Regions from separate parts of the Homo sapiens genome. Here regions 1, 2 and 3 are each linked to region 4. Evidence: promoter capture Hi-C in 16 types of primary human blood cells and fetal thymus (Javierre and others, 2016). All regions are on one chromosome and are shown on one strand. The core of a region is centred on a gene start or on the middle of the fragment in contact, and the rest is flanking DNA. Distances in the headings are between cores, read along the strand shown. Region 1 overlaps TBC1D14 (TBC1 domain family member 14). Region 2 overlaps TBC1D14 (TBC1 domain family member 14). Region 3 overlaps TBC1D14 (TBC1 domain family member 14). Region 4 holds the start of MRFAP1 (Morf4 family associated protein 1).

Evidence for each region. Contacts are between HindIII fragments. The CHiCAGO score rates a contact against its expected background, and 5 or more counts as called.
Region 1: a contact is called between a fragment that was not itself captured here and the fragment with the promoter of MRFAP1 in region 4, in 9 of 17 cell types (neutrophils, naive CD4 T cells, naive CD8 T cells and 6 more). The highest score is 16.8, in neutrophils.
Region 2: a fragment that was not itself captured here is called in contact with the fragment with the promoter of MRFAP1 in region 4 in 10 of 17 cell types (total CD4 T cells, naive CD8 T cells, total B cells and 7 more); the score reaches 10.2 in total CD4 T cells.
Region 3: a fragment that was not itself captured here is called in contact with the fragment with the promoter of MRFAP1 in region 4 in 8 of 17 cell types (naive CD8 T cells, non-activated CD4 T cells, activated CD4 T cells and 5 more); the score reaches 9.8 in naive CD8 T cells.

Annotation. Positions count from the first base shown.
Region 1 is chr4:6,989,681-6,992,380 of GRCh38, forward strand. All of the region lies in intron 3 of TBC1D14 (TBC1 domain family member 14), which reads left to right. Among named protein-coding and RNA genes, the nearest start is that of CFAP184, 52 kb to the right of the region's middle. The HindIII fragment of the contact is 3,241 bases long and covers 1-2,700 here.
Region 2 is chr4:6,969,649-6,972,348 of GRCh38, forward strand. The region is part of intron 3 of TBC1D14 (TBC1 domain family member 14); the gene reads left to right. Among named protein-coding and RNA genes, the nearest start is that of TBC1D14, 61 kb to the left of the region's middle. RefSeq lists an enhancer at 1,130-1,767. The HindIII fragment of the contact is 3,338 bases long and covers 1-2,700 here.
Region 3 is chr4:6,912,920-6,915,619 of GRCh38, forward strand. The region is part of intron 1 of TBC1D14 (TBC1 domain family member 14); the gene reads left to right. Among named protein-coding and RNA genes, the nearest start is that of TBC1D14, 4.4 kb to the left of the region's middle. The HindIII fragment of the contact is 2,613 bases long and covers 1-2,568 here.
Region 4 is chr4:6,639,383-6,642,082 of GRCh38, forward strand. It overlaps MRFAP1 (Morf4 family associated protein 1), which reads left to right and starts at 1,303. Exons shown (of 2, transcript NM_033296.3): 1 at 1,303-1,876; 2 at 2,348-2,700. The coding sequence starts at 1,481. The coding sequence ends at 1,864. LOC124900653 (a long non-coding RNA gene) reads right to left here and starts at 1,239. Exons shown (of 2, transcript XR_007058007.1): 1 at 1,138-1,239. RefSeq lists an enhancer at 1-297 and a silencer at 2,271-2,340. The HindIII fragment of the contact is 23,430 bases long and covers 1-2,700 here.

The DNA of each region.
Region 1 (2,700 bases), core at 188-2,687, 350 kb after region 4:
GTCCCTTCACAAATTAGTTTCCTCTTTTCCACATGGCCCCTTCCCTCTTGCCCTGCATGCTGAGTCTCATGCAGAGCCCTCTGCATGAGACTGGGGCTCTGCTCAGGCACCCTGCCTCCCTGCCTTTTTTCTTCAACCTTAGCTGGGTCATCAGACCACACCCCACAAGTTGGCTGCTAGTGAGGTGCTGCTGCCATGTTGGTATGGTCTCGTCTTTCCCAGCGTGATTCCTTATAAGCTGCCCAGAGCAGGGACTTCGAACAACTGTGCTTCTAAACTGACAGCCTGCAAACTTTTTTGAAATTATCCCCAGTTAGACACTTTAAATTGAGACTCATTGTACTGACATAACTAAGTGTAAAGCTGAAGCAAATTGTATTTATGTACTGTGTTTTATTGTTTTGTTTTTTTTAAAAATGCTGTTGTGACCAATCAAACTGATCTGCTGCTAGAACTTTGAAGAACCTTGTTCTAAATTCCTTCTGGGGGCTGGGTGCAGTGGCTCACGCCTGTAATCCCAGCACTTTGGAGGCTGAGGTGGGTGGATCACTTGAGATCAGGAGTTCCAGACCAGCCTGGCCAACATGGCAAAACCCTGTCTCTACTAAAAATACAAAAATTAGCTGGGCCTGGTGGCACGCGCTTGTAATCCCAGCTACTTGGGAGGCTGAGGCAGGAGAATCGCTTGAACCCGGGAGGCAGAGGTTGCAGTGAGCCAAGGTTGCACCACTGCACTTCAGCCTGGGTGACAGAACGAGACTCCTCAAAAATAAATAAATAAATTCCCTTTAGGGTTGTCCAGGGTGGCAGCTGTCACTTAAGTGGGCAGTTTATTTTACCTGTTAGTCTGCAGGGATTTTGACGAGCACAGCAAGACGGGCATCGATGCTTGGTTTAAACCAAGAGACTTCAAAATTTGGTCCCATGCAGAGATGGAACTTGGGAATGATGAGTTGGACTGAAGTGGACCGCACCAGTACTTGCCTGGCACACAGAAAGGGCTTGGCACTTGAGGGAGTGAGTGCCCAGCCATTTTACATATCTTATCTCTTGACCGCCACAGTGGTCTGTACAGTTGCTACTGTTTTATAGCTGAGAACAGACTGAGAGACAAGACGACTCACCCAAGCCAGGACCTAGAACTCTGGTTTTACTTCCAGAGCCTTATCCCTTGCTAGCCCGACCTTAGCGCTGATAATCCACAACTGAGTGTTCTTTCTCCAGTGCTGTTTCTTCCCTCCGGGATCCTGGGAGTGAACAGTCCTCTTTCTTCTTTCTAAAGTTGGTTTGTCTGGCCTGGACAGTGAGCTTACTGTTGTCACCTCCAGGTTGCCCTGGGAGAACCGGGTCTAGAGCAGGACCTGTCACCATTTCCAACACCATTTCTCTTCTGAAAGGGTGCCTAAGGTTTTGGAAAGGGCTTTGCCTGGGATTTCAAGTATGAGCAGGCTAGGCCACCTGTGTTACTTTATTATTTTAATCATGCCTTGGTCTGTGATTAAAACAAGCATTTGACCCTGCGTCTCTGCTGATCTGTGCACTTAGTTCAGTATTTGAGGTTTCGGTCACGGTTGTGAAAACTACTGAGACTGAATCTGAATGATGGATTACTTCTGATGCATGTCTGCCAGAGGCTTGCATGAATTCTGTGATGAGGAGTGTGGCTGCGGAACCCCAGCGCGTGGCCTGTGACCCAGCTTCCCCACTTGCCCGCCGGGTAAGTCACGGACACCTCTGGGTCCCCGTGTGTGTTTGGTGCACAGGGAGTGCTGGAGAAACAGCAGCCCTTGTTGGTCTGTGGCACTTGCTTTTTCTCCCCCTCAGACCTGAAACCACTGGAAGAGGCAGGAAACCATGCCTGCCTCAGGTAGCCTGCATCCCTGCTTTTTTTTCTTGAACCTTCGTTGGGCCATCTGACCACAGCCACAGCTTTGCGCTGGTGAGGTACAGCGTGTCCTTGTGCAGCTGTCTTGTTGGCGTGGTCTGGGATGGGGCAGCCCCTTCGGGGGGCTGGTGTGGAGGAAATGGAGTTAACCCAGCATGGTCTAGGGTGGAGCAGCCCCTTCGGGGGGCTGGTGTGGAGGAGATGGAGTTAACCCAGTGTGCACGCGTAAAGCACTCAGAGGTGCTGGGCTTGTTAGCGTCAGCCGCCGCCACTGTTTGTTGCTGTTGGTAATAGTAAGAAGCTCTGACTGAAGCGATCTGATGTTTCTGGTCATGACTCAAGGCTTTTACTTCCTTTTACTCCTACTTTTTGTATCTGTGCTGTTGGCAACTTGGCAGGGCTCCTAGATTGTTGTTTGGCACTAGAGCATGGTTTTCTGCCTTTCCCGTGGTTTCAGGTCTGAGGGGAGAGAAAGCTAGTGGCGCAGACCAACAAGGGCTGCCCTTCTCCAGCACTCCCTGTGCACCAGAGGCTGTGACATCACCTCATTCCTTCCAGCAGCCCACTCAGGGTGAGGCAGGCGGGGTTTCCCATTTTGCAGATGTGGAAAGAAGGCTTAGGGATTTGAAGTGAGTACCTTGCCCGAGGTCACAGCTGGTGGTTGGTGGATCTGAATTTGCTCCCAGAGCTATCTGGCTGCAGAGGCCACACCTAAGCCGTGTAGGACTCGGGCTTTCCCCTCTAAAACTGCACACCTGTGGGTTTGAGTGTATTCACAGATGATATTGGGCCGGCTCAGGGCGGCAGGCCCAGCC
Region 2 (2,700 bases), core at 11-2,510, 330 kb after region 4:
CCTGCCTCGGCCTCCCAAAGTGCTGGGATTACAGGCATGAGCCACCATGCCCGGCCCGACCCTGTTTTTTTTTTGAGGGGAGCATGGATTATGTTCTTGACCTTAGAGGATTTTTTTTTTTCTGTGAACTGAAATGACTAGGCCAGTTCATTATGCGGTAACACAATATTGCCAAGAGGAGGACCATCTGCTTCCGTCGTCAATAATAAAGAATGTAACTTACCTGCGCGAGTCATTCAATCCTGCCCGGGACCTGCTTGCTTGTCTCTGGCCCTCTCATCGCTCATCTCCCAACCCAAGGGACTTGGTGAAGCCTGGGAGGGGCTCAGGGTCAGGGACTCAGCACTGTGGGGAGGCCTCTGCGCTGCTGGCTGGGGCTGGCTGCTGTCATAGGCATGGGCTCACACAGCCTGCACTTGAGAGAGGCAGGCGCTGGGGCCATGACAGCCTAGACTTGTGATCAGGATGGTGACAATAACTCCAGTCAGGGCCGAAGCCTAGAGAAAGTGTTGAGGAAATTCCTTTTCCTTCTCTGGAAGTTTTCTTATTACTTGAGAGAGCAACATCACGTGGTGACATAAGAACTTGGACTTTGGAGTTAGACTACCAGGGTTTGTATCCCAGCTCTGCTACGGTTTGGTTGTGTGACTTTGGGCAAGTTATTTAACCTTTCTGAGCCTCATTTTCCTCATCTCTACAGTATGGAGAACAGTAGCACCTGCCTCCATGGTGGTGAGGATTAAACGGGTGAATACACACACGCACTCAGAATAGTAGTGGACATAGAAAGTATTTGCTGTTACCGTTGTTTCTTTCTTATGACAAGTCAACCTTGAACAACAGGAAATGGAACAACGGAACACAGTGCAAGAGAATGAGCCTGAGCTCTTCAGTGCATTCTTCATCTGCTTGGCCAACAAGTACTGAGCCATGTTGAGGCCAGGTCTTGTGCTGCGCACTGGGAGCCCAAGAGCAGTTGGGTTGACCTACCTCAAGGAGCCTGTGGCTGAGCTGGGGTCAGGTGTTCACACTGGCCAGGAGCTTTGGACCTGCCTCAAGGAGCCCGTGGCTGAGCTGGGGTCAGGTGTGCACACTGGCCAGGAGCTTTGGACCTGCCTCAAGGAGCCCGTGGCTGAGCTGGGGTCAGGTGTGCACACTGGCCAGGAGCTTTGGACCTGCCTCAAGGAGCCCGTGGTTGAGCTGGGGTCAGGTGTGCACACTGGCCAGGAGCTTTGGACCTGCCTCAAGGAGCCCGTGGTTGAGCTGGGGTCAGGTGTGCACACTGGCCAGGAGCTTTGGACCTGCCTCAAGGAGCCTGTGGTTGAACTGGGGTCAGGTGTTCACACTGGCCAGGAGCTTTGGACCTGCCTCAAGGAGCCTGTGGCTGAGCTGGGGGTCAGGTGTTCACACTGGCCAGGAGCTTTGGACCTGCTTCAAGGAGCCTGTGGTTGAGCTGGGGTCAGGTGTGCACACTGGCCAGGAGCTTTGGACTTGCAGGCTTGGGTTTGGTTTCTGGCTTCACCACTTTTTGTCTCTGTTGAGCCAATGACTACTTCTCAGTTTCCTCATCTGCTAAACAGGCATTATGACATCTACTTGCTTAATTGTTCTACACTAAGGGATAATGCGCATGTGGTGTATTTTTGCCCAGGGTTGAACACAGTGAGTCGCCCGGCGTTACTAGTCAAGGAATGGATGTCTTGACTTTTAATCAATAGGTCCGATTTGTGGTGTTGATCCCATATGTGGTTTGCCCAGGACATTTGCCCAGTACATCGGATTTTATTCTAACTGGGCTGCATTCTTTTGGCTTGGGCCTTATATATTACTATTTTGGGGAAATATTGAAATGTTAACTTTTAGTTATCTTTTCAAATTGCATAAACATTTTGAAAATTAAGTCATATTTTTTGTTAACCTCGATGGTAGTTTGAGAGCGATTTTCTTAACAGGGGAAACAAAAATGACCACGGGTAGGAGAATAACAGTACAACAGTGGCTGTCCAGTTGCGGTCCCCGGAGTAGTCACATCAGCATCACCCGGGCATTTGCTAGAAATGCACGTTCTCGGGCCTTACTCCAGACACATCAAACCAAGTTCTGGGGCTGGGGCCCAACAAGTTTTGTTTTAACAGAAGCTACAGGTCATTCTAATGCATGCCAAAATTTAAGAACTATCGGTATGCAGGAAGAGAATGTTAGCTATTGGAAGGAAAATAGCCATCTTTGCCACAGCAGGTTAAATAAAGGGCCCAAAGCCCACCGGCCAGGCAAATTTCAGTAACTGCTGGTGAACCGGAGAAGTTATTGTGGATAAAGATGGGAGCATGTATTTGGAGAGAGCTGCCTTCAGGCCTCTGGTTGCTGGCTTTGTATGAGCTGGACTCTGGCCAGGGCAGCATGGATGGTGACACTGCCTCGGAAGTGCAGTCCTTTGCCTTGTGAGTAAAGGGGAACCTTCTTTCTTGGATTCCATGGCCCTTTTGTTTGTTTCACAGATTTGAGCCTCTGAGTAGATCCATCCTGAGATTACAGTGAAGGGCAAAGACTTCTGTGGCCCTTGCCTTCGTTGGAATTTACCATGGGTCAAGGAAAAGACAGATTTAAACAAATAACTCTACATATAATTATAGTTGTGATCAATGTTGTGAAGAATTGCGGTGATAAGCAATTCTTATCTCTGAGGTCACCTGTTTCAAG
Region 3 (2,700 bases), core at 12-2,511, 270 kb after region 4:
CAGCCTGCTGCTGGAACCTGCATTATTTTTTCCCTCCTGTTGATTTTGTTTTGTTTTTTGTTTTGTTCTGTTCTATTCTATTCTATTTTTTGAGACAGCGTTTCGCTCTTGTTGCCCAGGCTGGAGTGCAATGGTGTGAGATCTCGGCTCACTGCAACCTTTGTCTCCCAGGTTCAAGCGATTCTCCTGCCTCAGCCTCTCCAGTAGCTGGGATTACAGGCATGTGCCACCATGCCTGGCTAATTTTGTATTTTTAGTGGAGACAGGGTTTTGCTATATTGGCCAGGCTGGTTTTGAACCCCTGACTTCAGGTGATCCACCTGCCTGGGCCTCCCAAAGTGCTGGGATTACAGGCGTGAGCCACCACGCCTGGCCTATTTTATTTTTAAAACTTCATTTGCAGCCTAACAAACATACATAGAAGTGTAAGAATGGTTAAGTGTTCAGCTTATCGATGATCAGGGTTATTGGGTGAATATACCTTTTGGGCAACATTAAGGGAGCTGAGAGGAAGGGGGATAAAGTTTAGGGACTGCATTCATAAGTACGCCAGCAGGCCATGTATGAGCTTTGATGTCAGATCTGGTTTGAACTCAGTTTCTGTTGCTGTGTGACCTTGGGTGCGTGACTTAGCCTCTCTGAATCTCATAGTTTCCTCAGTGCCCTTGGCAGGCTTGTGATTATTAGAGCATGTGATGGCATCCCGCATGCTTGGTGCATGCTAAATGCTCAGTAAATTATTTCTCTTATGAATAATTAAGATTATAAACTATACCGGTTTTAAGTAGTCTAAATATCTTCCTAATGTATCATTTGCCTCCCAGTCACTTCACAGCTACTTAGGAAAATTAGTTAATTAGTAATTTACCAAATCACTAAGTGAAGCTGAAACATTTTGCATTGAAAGTCTTTAATTTAAAATGTCCTGGCCAGGCGCTGTGGCTCATGCCTCTAATCCCAGCAGTTTGGGAGGTTGAGGAGGGTGGATCACTTGAGCTCAGGAGTTCAAGACCAGCCTGGGCAACATGGTGAAACCCTACCAAAACAACAACAACAACAACAAAAAATTAGCTGGGTGGACGTGGTGGCGGGCACCTGTGGTCCCAGCTACTCAGGATGCTGAGGTGGGAGGCTCACTTGAGCCTGGGAGGTGGAGGTTGCAGTGAACCAAGATCATACATCTGTACTGCAGCCTGGGTGACAGAGACCCCATCTCAAAAAAAAAAAAAAAGTTCCACCTGTGCCTTTAATCATAACCAGTGGTCAGTATAAGTTAAGTGTCCGCTTCTTCGGGTTGTGAAGGAGCCTTTGAGGACCCTGAACAATAACCGCAGTTTCTGCCTGGTTTGCCGAAACATACATGGGCTGAAACTTACTTAAACAGCATTGTGTTAAGTTCCAGGTGTCTGAAAGTTGCCACTCACCCTCTGGAGGAATATGTGAGCTTCTAGGAAATTTTTTTCAGGACTATTTTTATCCTAAAGAATCACCCATTTAAAAGCCAAACTACTTTTATAATGGCCTTTTCCATTTTACATAATGCAGATCAATCCACTGTTTTAGGCTGTGTGTGTAGCAGTGGAAACAGTGAGTGCCTCGGCTACTCAGGCTAGCCCGGCACAGCTCTGTTACTACGCACCACCCTTTAGACCGCAGTCTTCTTTCAGCTCTTTGGGTGGTTGTGGAGGTGACAGAACTAGTGCATATAGACATGGAATGCAGTGCCTGATGTGTCATCTGCGCTTGGGGAGCGGAGGCAGCTAGCTGGTCATGTTCGTGAGCCTGGAGCGTCCAGTCCTTTCTGCCTGAGCCAGGACTTGAATTAAAAAAGAGAAAGAGGCTGGGCTCAATGGCTCACATCTGTAATCCCAGCACTTTGGGAGGCTGAGGCAGGCGATCACTTGAGGTCAGGAGTTTGAGACTAGCCTGGCCAACAGGGTGAAACCCTGTCTCTACTAAAAATACAAAAATTAGCCGGGCGTGGTGGTGGGCGGCTGTAATCCCAGCTACTCAGGAGGCTGAGGCAGGAGAATCGCTTGAACCCGGGAGGCGGAGGTTGTGGTGAGCCCAGATCATGCCACTGCACTCCAGCCTGGGCGACAGAGTGAGACTCTGTCTCAGAAACAAAACAAAAAGAGAAAGAGATGCAGGGGTTGGTGCTTGTGGAGCCCTCTACCAGGCAGGCCAGTTCACAGGGAGGTGCCCCATTGCCCAGTGGGTTCTCCTTGGCATTAGAGGCTCGACTGGGCTGTTTCTCTTGAACCGTGCTGCCCTCCAGGGCAGGACGCTCATAAGAGCAGCTGCTTTTATGAGGAGGCTCTTAGTCTCCCCAGAATCCTCACCAGGAAACATGGGGGACCCTGAGAGGCCTTGCGGAGAATGCTGTGGGTGCTGGGGACAGATGCCTCAGGTCAACCCCCTGCGACCGGGGTAGGGGGTTGGGGGTCACTGCACCTGCTCAGCCCAGTTTTGTTATTCCCATCTGGAAACGGTAGAACTCAGCATGCTGTTTACAGGGTGAGGTGAGCAGAGGTGCTTATGTCTGTGACATGCCTTTGTGAGCAGCAAAGCTTACTGAGGGGCCTTGGAGTCACAGACTTGAGTTCAAGCCCAGCTCCGCCACAGTGGAGACCTTGGGCAGGCTGCATGCCTCGGTTTCCTCCTCTGGGTAATGGGCATACTACCTGGCTCACAGGGCTG
Region 4 (2,700 bases), core at 53-2,552:
ACCCTTCTGACTGTCATCCAAGGAAGAAGGAAAACTACTCTTTAAAAAGGCAGAAAGGGCCAGGCGCACGGCTCATGCCTGTAATCTCTGCACTTTGGGAGGCCCGAAGTGGAAGGATCACTTGAGGCCAGAAGATCAAGGCTGCAGTGAGCCATGATCCCACCACTGGACTCCAGCCTGGGCGACAGACCGAGACCCTGCCTCAATAAAAAAAAAAAACTTTTTAAATAATAATAAGTAAATAAGGCCCGGCACGGTGGCTTACGCCTGTAATCCCAGCACTTTGGGAGGCCGAGGTGGATGGATCACGAGGTCAGGAGATCGAGACCATCCTGGCTAACACGGTGAAACCCCGTCTCTACTAAAAATACAAAAAATTAGCCGGGTGCGGTGGCAGGCGCCTGTAGTCCCAGCTACTCGCGAGGCTGAGGCAGGAGAATGGTGTGAACCCCGGAGGTGGAGTTTGCAGTGAGCCGAGATCGTGCCACTGCACTCCAGCCTGGGCGATAGAGCCAGACTCTGTCTCCAAAAAAAAAAAAAAAAAAAGTAAATAAAACGGCTGAGGGGACTCAGGTCCCCCTGCGTGAAAGGAAGGGGCTTTAAGCGTCCACCTGGGGTAGCTGCATTATCACGTAGGATCCTCCTCTTCTAGTGTGGAAGGCCCTTTTTAATTTTCATTTATATTTTATTTATTTATTTTGCGACGGAGTCTCACTCTGATGCACAGGCTGGAGAGCAGTGGCGCGATATGGGCTCACTGCAACCTCCGCCTCCCGTTTTCAAACGATTGTCTCAGCCTCCCAAGCAGCTGGGGTTACACGCGTGCAACACGACGCCCGGCTAATTTTTGTATTTTTGGTAGAGACGGGGTCTCGCCATGTCGGCCAGGCTGGTCTCGAATTCCTGACCTCAAGCCATCCACCCACCTCGCCTCCCAACGTGCTGAGATTACAGGCGTGAGCCACCGCGCCTGGGAAGTGCGGGAGGCCTTTTTAAAAAATGTAAACTCGCGTGCTCAAGAAGCCCTATCGGAGGGAAACACCCAGAAGAGGCCACCCTCCAAACACAGGGTAAAACAGGGGTGACGCACAGAGGTAACGGGAAAGCAGGAACGAGCGAGAGCGTGCGGTCCCGTACCTGCGCGTGCCTGCGTGCGCGTCCGTGCGGCCGCGACGCCGCCGCCGGTGCCTCTCTTTCTAGACGTGCGCGCGCCCGCAGCTCGCCCCCCTGACCGTAAAGAGGCCCGGCTGTGTCGTGAAAGGGGCCGCAACGCGCAGAGCGCTGGTTGACGGCCGGGACTCCATTTTGTTCGCCGTTACTCTGCGCGTAAGTCGCTTGTCCGTGGCTTCTCTGAGAAGAAAAGTTGAAAAAGGGTAAAAGTTTTCAGGAATATTCGGGCTCTCTATTGCTAAGCATAGCGAGTGTCGGTTTTCTCTCTCCAACAGACATCGCTATTGCGGTTCCGAGGCAGTGGGAAGAGATGCGGCCCCTGGACATCGTCGAGCTGGCGGAACCGGAGGAAGTGGAGGTGCTGGAGCCCGAGGAGGATTTCGAGCAGTTTCTGCTCCCGGTCATCAACGAGATGCGCGAGGACATCGCGTCGCTGACGCGCGAGCACGGGCGGGCGTACCTGCGGAACCGGAGCAAGCTGTGGGAGATGGACAATATGCTCATCCAGATCAAAACGCAGGTGGAGGCCTCGGAGGAGAGCGCCCTCAACCACCTCCAGAACCCGGGCGACGCGGCCGAGGGCCGGGCGGCCAAGAGGTGCGAGAAGGCCGAGGAGAAGGCCAAGGAGATTGCGAAGATGGCAGAGATGCTGGTGGAGCTGGTCCGGCGGATAGAGAAGAGCGAGTCGTCGTGAGCGCGGTCGGCGGTAAGTCGGGCACCCGCGCCAGGCCGAGGAGCGGCCCCAGCTTGGCCGCTCTTCGAGAGCGATGATTTCATCGAGATGCACCGGAATCGGGGGTGGGGCGGGAGAATAAAGGCGTGCTCGGGTCAGGGCCGATCTGGGCCCCGTCTTCGTGTTTTGTTTTTTGACGGTGGCGGCGTGGGATAATCAGAGTGGCCGGGTTTGGGCGTGATGCGTGTTCAGTGGAAGGGTCATAAATCTCAGAGTCGCCAAGGAAACAGAAACGGACAAGGTCCCGGGCCGTCCAGCAAGCGGGGGTGGAAATAGAGGATTTTCGGGGAAGACGTTGGACAAGTCAACGTTGCTAGAGACTGGAGTGAGTCAGGTGGTGGCCAGAAGAGGTGGCGTCCTGCACAGTGGCGTTCGTGAGGGTTTGGGGGTCGTTGTGCCTGGGATTAACCTCTCGATGATGAATTTCTTCCCATTGTGCTTTAGGTTTCCAGCCAATGGATTCTGGTCAACTGGTGGAGATTGGCTGACACCCTGGAGAAGCCGAAACCAGAGAGCCTTTTGTTTTCTCTTTTTTCCTGTCTATGCTCTGTCTCACTTAACACTACGTTTTCTGCTATGGTCTGTGGTTGATGACCTCAATATGAGTTTCGATTGTTAACGTGTTTTTGTTTGGGAAGTAATTTTGTTTGAAAATGCTCTCACATACAGGAATTAGGGCCTAGATTGTAAGCTCTTGCAGCAGTCACATTTGTTCCCGGGCTTTGGTGGTTATTTCTAAATTTTTGAGGTGCTTTGCTATTTCTTGTGTGACCTGATAGCTCCCTGGAACTTTGGGT